Regions from separate parts of the Homo sapiens genome. Here region 1 is linked to region 2. Evidence: promoter capture Hi-C in 16 types of primary human blood cells and fetal thymus (Javierre and others, 2016). All regions are on one chromosome and are shown on one strand. The core of a region is centred on a gene start or on the middle of the fragment in contact, and the rest is flanking DNA. Distances in the headings are between cores, read along the strand shown.

What was found. The method cuts DNA at HindIII sites, captures the fragments that hold promoters and counts their contacts. A CHiCAGO score of 5 or more calls a contact.
Region 1: a contact is called between a fragment that was not itself captured here and the fragment with the promoter of RETREG1 in region 2, in 1 of 17 cell types (activated CD4 T cells). The highest score is 6.2, in activated CD4 T cells.

What each region holds. Positions count from the first base shown.
Region 1 is chr5:18,741,732-18,744,884 of GRCh38, forward strand. The region is part of intron 1 of LINC02100 (long intergenic non-protein coding RNA 2100); the gene reads right to left. Among named protein-coding and RNA genes, the nearest start is that of LINC02100, 2.8 kb to the right of the region's middle. The HindIII fragment of the contact is 6,048 bases long and covers 1-3,153 here.
Region 2 is chr5:16,615,394-16,618,283 of GRCh38, forward strand. RETREG1 (reticulophagy regulator 1) reads right to left here and starts at 1,604. Exons shown (of 9, transcript NM_001034850.3): 1 at 1,259-1,604. The coding sequence starts at 1,578. It overlaps RETREG1-AS1 (RETREG1 antisense RNA 1), which reads left to right and starts at 533. Exons shown (of 4, transcript NR_109946.1): 1 at 533-1,093. RefSeq lists a silencer at 1,358-1,847. The HindIII fragment of the contact is 3,701 bases long and covers 911-2,890 here.

The DNA of each region.
Region 1 (3,153 bases), core at 223-2,722, 2.1 Mb after region 2:
AGGTCAAGGACAAAGTTAAATATTATCATTTTAAATTAGCAGAGATAATAACCTGTGATTTTGATTATACAGTGATGTGTTGCTTAGCCTTTGGTATATGTTCTGAGAACTCTCTCCTTAGGTGATTTTGCTGTTGTGCAAATGTCATAAAGTGTACTTACACAAACTTAGATGGTATAGCCTACTACACACTTAGGCTATATGGTATAGCCTATAGCTCCCGAGCTACAAATCTGTACAGCATGTTACTGTACTAAATACCAAAAGCAACTGTAACATGATGGTAAATATTTGGGTATCAAAATATATCTAAACATAGATAAGGTACATATTTAAAAGATAAAAAATGATACACCTGTATAGGGCCGTTACCAAGAATGGAGTTTGCCAGATTGAAAATTGCTCTGGGTGAGTCAGTGAGTGAGTGATGAGCGAATGCAAAGTCCTAGAACCTAACTGTACACTACCCATAGTTTTTATATGCACAGTACACTTAGGCTACTCTAAATTTATTTTAAATATTCTTTTTTCAATAATAAATTAACCTTAGATTAATGTACTTTTAATTTATGTTATTGTTAAATAATATTAATAATATTAATAACTATGCATATTCATGGAGTACATAGTCATGTTTTGATCACAGTAATAGCACATTCATTATTTAAAACATTTATCACTTCTTTTTATTAAGAATGTTCAATGTCTTCCCTGTGGTGTTTGTTCTCAGTTCGGTGGCATTCCAATGTTCGGGAACAGGTACTGGGACGGATGGTTTAAAGCATAAGGGGAGGCACATCAAGCAGTCAGCTGGATTTTGGCTGGAGGCCTTGCGAATTTCGGTAAGGGTGACATTAAATAAATTTAGCAAGAAGGAGTGAGTGTGAAGAGTTTTGTGTAGCTTTGAGAGGTCTAATCCTTTGTAGGGACTGGGTGTGCTAAGGGTTTGAATGGCCCTTGCTTTAGCTGATATGTCCCTCCCTAGTAAAGGGGTAGGGCTCTCAGGCATAAGAAAGGCATGTGAGAAAAATAAGGTTCCCCAGTCACAACTTAGGGGGTAGGAGAAATGCCTAGTGACTGGCTGTCCTAGGACCCCTTTGATGGTGACAGACCAGGAAGATACTGACCAGGACAGAAGAGTAAAACTGAGAAGGCCGCACCAGTGTCCAGGAGGAAGTTAGTTTCCTGGCCCTCAATGGTTACACTTAGCCGGGGCTCTGTGAGGGTGATGGCATGGGCTGGCACCTGTCCCGGGCACCCTCAGTCCTGTTGTTGGACCATCTGGGTAGTGGCCTCTGGCCCAGAGGACTTTCGCCTTCGGGGGCAGTGTGCCTTCCAGTGATCCCTCTGGCACAAGGGACATAGAAGAGGGGGCAGCTTATTTTTGTTTGGGCGGTCCTTTTTGAAGTACCCCTGTAAGCTGCACTGATAACAAGCCCTGTTAGGCGGGTTGCCTGCCCAGCCCTTCTTTCTTTCAGAGCCACTGAAGTTCATCTGCCTGAGGGTCATGACTAAGGTGACGGCCTTTTTCTTGTCTCATCTGTCTCACTCAGCCTGATCCTCCTGATCCCTATTATAAAATACTGAAGTTGCCAAATTCAATCGAGTTTTCAAATTTTGCTCAGGGCCCAGGGCAGACTTTTGAAGTTCTTTTCTAATGTGTGCAGCTGACTGAGTAATAAACTTACCCTTTAAAATTAGTTGGCCTTCAACAGAGTCAGGTGACAAGGAGGTATGCTTTCTTAATGCCTCCCTTAGCCTCTCTAAAAATGCCGTAGGGTTTTCTTCCTTTTCCTCTGTTATGGTGGCCATCACTGAGTAATTCATTGGCTTTTTTCTGGTCTTTCTTAATCCCTCTACTATACAAGTCAGTAAATGCCTGAGACTCAAGTCTCCATGCTCCGAGTTGAGGTCCCAGTGGGGATCCACACTGGGAACTGCCTGTTGGCCTGTGGGGAGTTGTTCCCTTTCTTCTGATGTCATTTTATCATTTACCTGGCTTAGGTACCAGAGATCCCCAAACTCCTGGGCTGCAACTAAGGTGGCCTGTTTTTTGTTGGGAGTTAATGTTTGACCTAACAACAACATAATATCTCTCCATGCTAAACTAAAAGATTGTCCTAATCCTTGTAAGACATCTATGCATCCATCAGGATTATCTGAGAATTTTTCTCCGTTCAGTTTGATCTGTTTTAAGTCTGAGAGGGAAAAGGGGACATGTACTCACACCAGGCCAAAGTCTCCTCCTCCTCCCATGGCTTGGAGGGGGCACAATCGAGGGCCATTGGCGCCTTTTGGTTACTTGACTATCTTTGGGTCTGGTTCCTTTTGGGCCGTTAGGGCCAAAGGAGAGTCCTTACTAGTCAGAGGGGGAGCCGTGGGGAGCCCTGGGTATGGGGGTAGGCTTTGAGGATCCCCGGTAGGATATATATATTACATTTTTTACATAATTGTGGGTTTTCCGTTAGTGAGAAAAAACCTGTACATATGGCACTTCACTCCATTTGCCCTCTCTTTTACAAAAGAGATCTAGCTGTAGGATGGTATTATAGTTTATACTTCCCTTGGGTGGCCATGTCTCTCCTCCAGGAAGAGGATATTGTGGCCGGGTGGTGCTGCAGAAAAATATAAGTCGCTTCTTCTTCAGCATTTGAGGGTCTAATTGGTCCCAATTATCCAGACTACACCTTAGGAGTGGCTTAGCTTTTGAGGGAACGTCTCCTATCTGAAAGGAGAACATAGGAGTGCCTGCACCCCTAGTCATCACCTAGTGAGCACTCTCCCTAGGGCATCCCCTATGGTTCTAGTGTCCTCTTCTTTCCAGGGTGCCCAATCACCCATGGAACTCTGCTTATCAGATTTAATTGTGCTTACTAACATAGCAGTTTTGCTCACACTCATTTCCTGCCTCTTTTTAGCCACAGAAAAAAGGGCCCAGGGCTGCTCGATTTTAGTGGCTCCTTACCAGCATGCCCACAGTTGTCTTTGCATCTGCGAGTGGGTCTTAGGTTAGGGGTGTATTTTGAGTTCAGAGACCAGGCACCAATTAGCATATTTCTGGGCTTGGAGTTGTCCCAGCAAGATAAATTCCTTGAAAATGGCACTGGAGCACAACAGTTTTAGAGTAGGCAGTGGCAAATTGGAGGACCAAGG
Region 2 (2,890 bases), core at 354-2,853:
CATCTCAAAAAAAAAAAAAAAAGAAAGAAAGAAAGAAAAGAAAAAGAAATAAAATGTTAAAAACATCGTAAACATTAGTGAGACACAGCCCTAAGACTATTAGACTATTGCCCAATCTAGCATAAGACAATATGTCCTTCTTATTTGAGTGCTCGCATTCACTCCATAATAAGATAGATTTGGAATAAACTCTATTCCAAACACAGATACCTAAGAGATCCAAAGTTAATTCACTTTCAGGGACCTCCGACAAGATACAGCTAGTTTTAAGAGAAAACACCAGGACTAGCAGAGATCTGAGGAAAATATTCATCTTGCTCAAGTTAACCTAGAAAATGACAGGCTGTCTATTTTGTGCAATTTATTTATTTCTCAACTTTAAGGTTCAGAAATCTCTGTCCTGTAACAAGGTATCTGTTACCGGAGTCTGATTATTCTGCACTGTGTAGGTCATGTTTGTTATGAGGACACTTAGCAAACAAAGAAGGTTTTTCTCCGCCCTCAATAGCGTGGTAACGGATGACAGGACACCACTTTCAACGAAGGAGACAGACATTTCCCTGGCCTTTCTGAAGAGCGCTTTTTGGAGAGACAAACCTGTTGCTCAGGGGCTGAGCATTCCCGTGTGTTCTCCCTGTACTTCACCTAAAAATATGCCTGTTTTCCACACTGTGCACACCCGGGGGTGGGTGCTGGGCATACTCCACCTGCTTGTTTGCCTCCCGTTTTCTCATCAGGGAGTAAACACAGTAAACCTAACGCTCCAGGGGAAGGAAAAAACAAATCATTCAGGGCCCATCTCAGGTGACTGATGAATGCGGCACCGTTTTGAACGGGTACCTAATCTGGTCCAGATATGCCTGCTGGGGCTGCAAGAACCAAGACACGTTCAAGCACGTTTGCTCCGGCAAGCTTGGGCGAGCAGGTCAAGACCTCAGAGTTTTAGAAAGCAGGGGCGAAGTTTTCAAGCACGATGGGAACACCTGTAGGTGCAGGTGCCTGAGGGTCGGCCGACCACCTCGCATCTGAGGCTGGATCCGCACACGGAGAACGACAACTGCTCACAGGGACGTGCGTCCGGAGGAAAGTTGCGGTGAGTGTCTACCTGTTCGAGACAGGTGGCCGAGAAAGTGGGGCAGGGCTGACAATTCTTCCTCCGCAGTGTCCCGCGGGCTCCCCCTGCACTGGGTCCCCGGGGCCCCGGGCGCCCCAAGGTCACCTGCCCTCCTCAGCGCCCCCACCTTGCCCAAGCTCTCACCAGAACAGCAGGTTGGCAGCGACGAAGCCGAGCAGGCTCCGCAGCGGCCTCTTCCAGCTCAGCAGCTCGTCGGCGCGGCAGCCCAGCCACAGCACCGGCTCCCCGAGCAGCCAGGTTACCGCGGCCGCCGCCCGGCCCGCGGCCTCCTCCACCTGCAACCCCGCGCCCTCCGCCGCCCCAGCTTCCTGCGCTTCCTCCTCCTGCTGCTGCCGCTCTGCGGGGGATGCCTGGGGCGGTGGCGGCGACGGCGGCGCCTGCTCCTCGGCGGCAGGAGCCGGGCATCCCTCCTCGGCGTGCTCCGGAGGCGCCGGGCTCGCCATCTTCAGCTGTGCTTCCAGACAGGGACGGGGCCGGGCGCGCGCGCGGGCGCGCCTGGGTGTGGGTGCCGCCGAGGGCGGGGCGGCGGTGGCGGCAGGTCCCGGAGCGGGGCGCGCACCGCGGGGCACAGGCGGCTGGGGGCCTTGTGACGCCACAGGCCACGGAGGGGGAGCCGCCCGGGAAAGTGGGTGCGGCCGAGTTCGCGCAGGGGCGGGGCCGGGCGCCGGGAGCTGGGCGGTGTCCCCGGGGGGCTCTGGGTTCCTGGAGGGCCTCTCCGGGACTCGAGGAAAACGACCTTTTCCCTTGCAGCGGCGGGAGAGGGCGAAGTGGAGGACTGCTGCTCGGTTCCGTATCCAAAAGAGACCCAAGGCTCCAGGCAAAATAGATTGGACATTTTCACTTTCTCAAGCCAGGGCCACCGGTCGCCCAACCAGCAGCCACTGAGGGTGGTATCGGGGCGCCCCTTCCCCTGGCAGCGTATTTCAGCCCCCAGAGACATCCCCCACCTCGGCCATCCCCAGCGCCTTTGCAGGGACAGCAGCACAACCATAGCAGAGGTCCTGGGCATCCTGGAAATAACGTGCTGGTATAAATGTTGGATTGAGAAAGGAAGAAAAAACATTTGGGGTCAATTTGGGGCCCTCTCGTTTGACACGGGAGGAAACACAAGGCCGCAGCGTTGGGGGAAGCTGCTTCCTTTCTCTCTCTTCTTTCTCTCTGTCTCAGGTGCTTCCTTTCTCTTCTCTGTCTCTCTCTCTCTCTCTGCCTCTCCCTCTCTCTCCCCCGTCTCTCCCCCTATCTTCCCCTCTCTCCTCCTATCTCCCCCTCTCTCCCCCTCCTTGTGGCTAGGTGATCTGGCTCAGAAGTGCACGTTGGCCCGCGCGTGCGGGGAGCTGAGAAGCAAGAGATTGGAACTTTGCACGTGTCAAGCAAGGTTTGGCCTGCTTTGAAGACAGTAATTTCAGAGCCACTCCGGTCTCTGCGTCACAAGCGGGCATCAGGGCAGTGGTGGGGCGGCAGGGGATCCTGAGACCTCCCATGCCCTCTCTTTGGCCCCGGTGCTTCTGGGTGAGTGTGGGGAGAGAGGAAAATAGTTGTTTATGCTTTTCACCATTTGCATTTTTAAATTTTTGTCTTCTTTAATCTTCCTGGTCTTACTTTTACTCTAGAATGACAGGTCCTTCCCCCCCATACTAAGGGTTCTGTCTGCGGATGCATCAGGGCATCTCATATCCCTTTACTGGCAACCAGCCTGCCTGCACAGGATGGAAGGGAGGGCAATTAAATTCCCTGCGTCAAGGGAGTCTCTAGGGG